Regions from separate parts of the Homo sapiens genome. Here region 2 is linked to region 1. The links are contacts of gene promoters, found by promoter capture Hi-C in blood cells and fetal thymus (Javierre and others, 2016). All regions are on one chromosome and are shown on one strand. The core of a region is centred on a gene start or on the middle of the fragment in contact, and the rest is flanking DNA. Distances in the headings are between cores, read along the strand shown.

Region 1 (2,821 bases), core at 278-2,777:
ATCCTCTTCCAGGAATGGCCCCTTCCCTGGGTCACCACGAGGTCCAGAGACCCTGAATTAGGGTCTCTCACTACTCGCCCTCCAAGGACCCCTACCTTTACTTTATTCCTATTGCTTTGCTCTAATACCCTCTGACAATAGCTTGCCAAACAGCCAGACTGCCCTCAAAGCTCTCCAGGATGGGAGAACTTGGAGTGGCTTAGCCCTTCCCAACATAGCAGCTGGAGGCTGATGAGGCAGTTACTCCCCACAACCGCCTAATGAGGAGGAAGGCATTCGCATTCCCATTTTACAGATGAGGCCATTTATAAGTTTGTAGAGAAGTGAAGCAACTTGTCTAAGGAGTCAAAGGCAAAGTCTGGATAGATTCAAACCCCACTCTCTTCGGTTCCAAATGTGTCTTCGGCCACTGTCCTATATACTATGGAGGAGAATTCATGGCACTGCAGGCTGAACCTCACCTTGCATGGAACCAGGCGTTTTCTTATCCAATGCGGCAACCTATGCCACACCGGCCACCAAAAACGAGCATGGACACAGACCTGAGCCCCTCTGCCCCCTTCACCCAGAAAAACAAGTCAGAAAAGCCCCCAAAAAACCACCAGAATGGGGCAAGATACAGAAAACGCAACCTACACCCTGGGAGCTCTTCATGGCTTAGCCTCCAGTGCTCCCAGCAGCACCTACACTCCAGATCGGATGCCACCTGAGCAGGTCTGGAGATCTGGGGAATGAGCGGTGGGCTGGGATGTGTGGAGCGGCAGCTTCACCTGTAACTCCTGCGGGAGTCTCCCACGGCTGCCTCCCACCCTGCCCTGCACAGCCACTGGGCCTGCCACCACCCTTCCTGTTTGGGAACCTCTTCCCCGGCATGAATTCCCTGCACTCTGCCGCGGTGACACCCTCACCCAGGACAGGCATCAGACCTGAAGATGGGCCCGGGGGCAGGGCGGGCCATTTGAGGTCTTGACGTCTACCAGCCTACCGTGGGGCCATGGGGCAAAGTGGTGTAAGTGACTTAACATGCACCCACTAAGGATCGAGAGACGGCACCTGGAAGGGACCACCTCCGCTGCCTAGCAGTACCAGGAAGGAGCCAGCCCAGGAGGGCCACCTGCCTGCCCACTGTCCCTCCCTGCCTGCTCTTCAAAATGGGTGCAGAAGGCTCTAGGGCCGGGGGCCGCTCGCTCACTCACCTTCCGGCGCCTTCCGCCTCTTCCTCGCGACTCCTCACCCGCACTGGGCCTCTCTCTTAGGCGCTGAGGAGAGGGAAGACCTGGGACCTTGCTGGGCCAGTCCTCCGCAGGCCTGCGCGGAAACAGATCAGAAATGCATTATGGCAAATGTAGCAAGTGTTCCCGCGGGTGTTGCGACTGGCTGACGTCCAGGCGCTGGGAACCGCTCCGCGCCCGCCTCCCGACTGAACTCCTGGCTCAGGTGCAAGAGGCGGCAGGCTCCTTGCGGGGCTTACGGGGAGAAGGGGACGTTGGGCGCAGCACCGCTTCCGGGGCGGCCCCTCTCCAGCCACACTCCGACCCGGCGCGGCCACCCGGCCCCAGCTCGCAGGCCCCACTGCTGCGCCCTCTCGGGGACGCGAATGCCCCGCGCCGGGCGGGCGCCCGCGGAGGGAGGTCCCGCTCCAGGGACGCGGAGCTCCAGATGCCTGCGCCCAAGGCCCCTCGCCTGGCGCCGGCTGGTCCCGAACTTCGGGGCATGGGCACCCAGGAAGGGGGCTGCGCGTGTTGGGAGGCCCGTCCTCTCGCCGCGAACCTCCGGGGCAGCCGGGGAACCCACCTGCGGAGCGGGAAGCCCAGGAACGCTCGAAGAGGTCGTGGGAGCCGGGCCCGCCCTCCGCGGGAGGGACCTCGGCGCGGGAACGCCGAGGAGGGGCCGCGCTTACACGTTGGTGCAGCGCCGGCTTCACCTGACCGCGATTTTGATTTCAGGGTGTGGCCTCAGGTAGGACGCGGCGGCGAACCCAGAGCGCGGGAGAAGTTGCCAAGTGTCGCTGGGGCCTTGGCCAGGAGCCCCTCTGCCCGAGGGGCGCCGTGCTGCTCAACTCTTTCTCTCCACCTGCTTGGCCCCAGTTCCCGCCCGCCCTTCGCCTCCGGGCCCTGGCCTGGCCACAGCCGCGGGGACCTGCCTGCGGCTCCACGGCCCAGTGGCCGCCTCGCGGAGACCCGACCTGGAGAATCAGCTGAGCGCCGGCTGTGTGTAATCACCTCGTTCACTGGCATCGCAGATGCACGCTCCAGAGCCGCGGGCCGACTCTCCCGGACCTGAGCGGGCCGCGTGTGCCCACCCACACATCCTGGAGAGCCCACGCGGGAGTCGGAAAACCTGTCACCTTGGATGATCTGTCCCATGTGGACAGGGCCCCAAGACTGTGCTGGGGTAGCCCCTTGCGCAGGCAGGAAAGCGGGATTTAAGGGATTCCAGTTCCCTTGTCAGCCCTTGCGCAGTCCTGAGTCCTGAGGACTTTCTAGCCTGAGAGTCCTAGGGCAGGAGACCCGCACCCCCAGAGCGGCTAGGGCCTGTTTCGGAGCCCCTCCGCCTGTGATTTTGTCCCAGAGTCGGCATCCTCTGCTTGTCCTCAGCAGTCCCTGCCTAAGATCAGAATGGCCATTCCAAGGGGCTCACTCCTGGCTGCCCCTGTGCCATGTTTCTTTTGGGGTACAGGGTGTTTTCTATACTGGGGGAAGGGACAGGAATCACTCATCTCTTCCCCAGATAAAGAAGTGAGAAGACCTTTGCTCTCCTTGTCTTGGGCCCCCAGAGAAAGGCTGTGTTCTGGCTGAGTGCTGAGGAAGTTCTGGCTTGG
Region 2 (2,985 bases), core at 243-2,742, 450 kb after region 1:
TATTGGAAGGAAAAACAATGTCTCATCTGATTTTAACAAAAATCTAATTGTGCAGGCATTTTAGACCTATTAATTGCCCTTAGGGTTACTGAGTGATTATCATGGGAGCAATGACTGTTGAGCAGGCATAACTTTTGTCAGCTGAATTGATTTTTGTGGAAGGACCTTGTCGGAGTCCATTCTTCATACTGGTTCTTCTGCCCTGAACAACTTTAATTGTTAATGATATCTGGACTGTGGCATAAGTCTGCTTTAGATATGTGTGTAGACAAACTTATTTCTGTTGGTAGCTTTGAAAATTGCCCTAAAGCTTCTTTAGCCCATATAAAATTGTTTACCAATTACCCTTTACCCTCAAATTGAAAAGTAGATATCTTTATAGCAGATGGAGAAATCTTTTATATGGAGGGTACTGTTTGCGATTTCATCCTGGTAGCAATAATTATAAAGCTAGCTATGAATTGAAATTATTTACTTGTTTTCCTGTAAAGCCTCATGAGGACAGGTTTGCTGCTCCTTTGGAAAGGTTTTTATTTTTTGGTCTAGTGACGCTTCTTATTGTACTTGCAAAGTCCTCAAAACTTAGGTCTGGCTTCCTGGATTCCCCCAGTGCTTTTCTGTCTTAGGCCGAATAGAAGAACTTGACCTTTCTTCCCTCTCATCTACTTTTGGTGATTTAGGTTCCCCTAATTTAAAAAGTATCTTCTGTGGAATTAATTTTGTTTGTGTATCTTGCAGGTACTACTCAGTCCTCTATCCACTGGAGAGGAAAATATCTGATGCCAAGTCCCGTGAACTGGTGATGTACATCTGGGCCCATGCAGTGGTGGCCAGTGTCCCTGTGTTTGCAGTAACCAATGTGGCTGACATCTATGCCACGTCCACCTGCACGGAAGTCTGGAGCAACTCCTTGGGCCACCTGGTGTACGTTCTGGTGTATAACATCACCACGGTCATTGTGCCTGTGGTGGTGGTGTTCCTCTTCTTGATACTGATCCGACGGGCCCTGAGTGCCAGCCAGAAGAAGAAGGTCATCATAGCAGCGCTCCGGACCCCACAGAACACCATCTCTATTCCCTATGCCTCCCAGCGGGAGGCCGAGCTGCACGCCACCCTGCTCTCCATGGTGATGGTCTTCATCTTGTGTAGCGTGCCCTATGCCACCCTGGTCGTCTACCAGACTGTGCTCAATGTCCCTGACACTTCCGTCTTCTTGCTGCTCACTGCTGTTTGGCTGCCCAAAGTCTCCCTGCTGGCAAACCCTGTTCTCTTTCTTACTGTGAACAAATCTGTCCGCAAGTGCTTGATAGGGACCCTGGTGCAACTACACCACCGGTACAGTCGCCGTAATGTGGTCAGTACAGGGAGTGGCATGGCTGAGGCCAGCCTGGAACCCAGCATACGCTCGGGTAGCCAGCTCCTGGAGATGTTCCACATTGGGCAGCAGCAGATCTTTAAGCCCACAGAGGATGAGGAAGAGAGTGAGGCCAAGTACATTGGCTCAGCTGACTTCCAGGCCAAGGAGATATTTAGCACCTGCCTGGAGGGAGAGCAGGGGCCACAGTTTGCGCCCTCTGCCCCACCCCTGAGCACAGTGGACTCTGTATCCCAGGTGGCACCGGCAGCCCCTGTGGAACCTGAAACATTCCCTGATAAGTATTCCCTGCAGTTTGGCTTTGGGCCTTTTGAGTTGCCTCCTCAGTGGCTCTCAGAGACCCGAAACAGCAAGAAGCGGCTGCTTCCCCCCTTGGGCAACACCCCAGAAGAGCTGATCCAGACAAAGGTGCCCAAGGTAGGCAGGGTGGAGCGGAAGATGAGCAGAAACAATAAAGTGAGCATTTTTCCAAAGGTGGATTCCTAGCAAGGATTGTAAATTCTTGGAAGCAACGGGGAGCTTCCATATTCCCACCAGAGTGTGGGAATGCTGTGGCCATGTGATTGTATGATCTCCTTGCAACTCAGTGTGAGTTGATTCCTCCAATATGGGCCAGATGCTTTTGAATGATAGGGAAATCTACATAAAATCCAGTGTCCTCTTTATTGAGGGAGTATATGTATCCATCTCAGTGATCCATGTCCTTAGTGAAGTCCACATTATTCTCTGTGGGGACAAGAGCTGGGCAGTTTTGAATGGGTCTTGAGGTGGGTACCCCATGTGCACTTTCTGAGGATGCCTCACTTCCCTGGGCTCTGCAGAGAACACACAGAGAGAAGACTTTCAGAGCTCACAGGAGCAGGGAGCAGGAGCACTCTAAGGGAATTCCAAGATCATGATGGAGCATGGTGGCTCCAGAGAAAATGCCTGTTTGATGAACTTAAACATGTCAAACATTTTCTGTTGAGAAGGTAGGGATTTGGTGTCTTACACTGTTTCTCTGGAAGCCCCAGTCATATGACTCACTGTTTCTCCTGATACCCTTCGTCCCTTTCATTGGGATGTAGGTAAGGAATGACGATTCCTCACCTATGGTACACATGGCGATAGATGTGCCCGGGAGTAAGGGAGATATTTTGTCCTTGATAATTCTGATTTTCCCTTGGCATCACCAACGCCTCAGAGAGATACACCTGCACCCTCCAGTCAGGGTCAGTGTTGGCTGGAAAACACTGAAAAGTCTTCGCTCTGTCTTTCACCTTAAATTGTGTTTTCTCAACAAATGAGAGAGAAGCTTACGGGGGAGATGCCTGAGAGATGCCTATGGCGCTGTAGTTTTTTTTTCTTCCCTATGATCTCACATGAAAGGTGCTATGTAACAACCAGTATGAGTCAAATATATTGAAAAAATCATCTTATGCAAACTTTAGGAATTAAAAGGTATTTTTAAAATGGAGAGTTAGTGTAAGCTGGGTCCTTTGGAAACATCAAACTGAAAAGGCCTGATTTGGAAAGGTGACTCTGCCCAAAAGGTTGGCAAGAATCTGACAAAGATGGTTTCCTTCCGAGGAAGACTCCGGAACTCAGGTGTGGCCAGTCTCCTTTTCAGT

The links. Contacts are between HindIII fragments. The CHiCAGO score rates a contact against its expected background, and 5 or more counts as called.
Region 2: a fragment that was not itself captured here is called in contact with the fragment with the promoter of PAK6-AS1 in region 1 in 7 of 17 cell types (naive B cells, total B cells, activated CD4 T cells and 4 more); the score reaches 10.5 in naive B cells.

The regions. Positions count from the first base shown.
Region 1 is chr15:40,251,665-40,254,485 of GRCh38, reverse strand. It overlaps PAK6-AS1 (PAK6 antisense RNA 1), which reads left to right and starts at 1,527. Exons shown (of 2, transcript NR_168270.1): 1 at 1,527-1,828; 2 at 1,947-2,821. BUB1B-PAK6 (BUB1B-PAK6 readthrough) reads right to left here. Exons shown (of 10, transcript NM_001128629.3): 2 at 1,197-1,308. PAK6 (p21 (RAC1) activated kinase 6) reads right to left here. Exons shown (of 11, transcript NM_001395430.1): 3 at 1,197-1,308. RefSeq lists a silencer at 1,456-1,545. The HindIII fragment of the contact is 18,506 bases long and covers 1-2,821 here.
Region 2 is chr15:39,800,008-39,802,992 of GRCh38, reverse strand. It overlaps GPR176 (G protein-coupled receptor 176), which reads left to right. Exons shown (of 3, transcript NM_007223.3): 3 at 739-2,985. The coding sequence ends at 1,861. Among named protein-coding and RNA genes, the nearest start is that of FSIP1, 19 kb to the right of the region's middle. The HindIII fragment of the contact is 2,359 bases long and covers 313-2,671 here.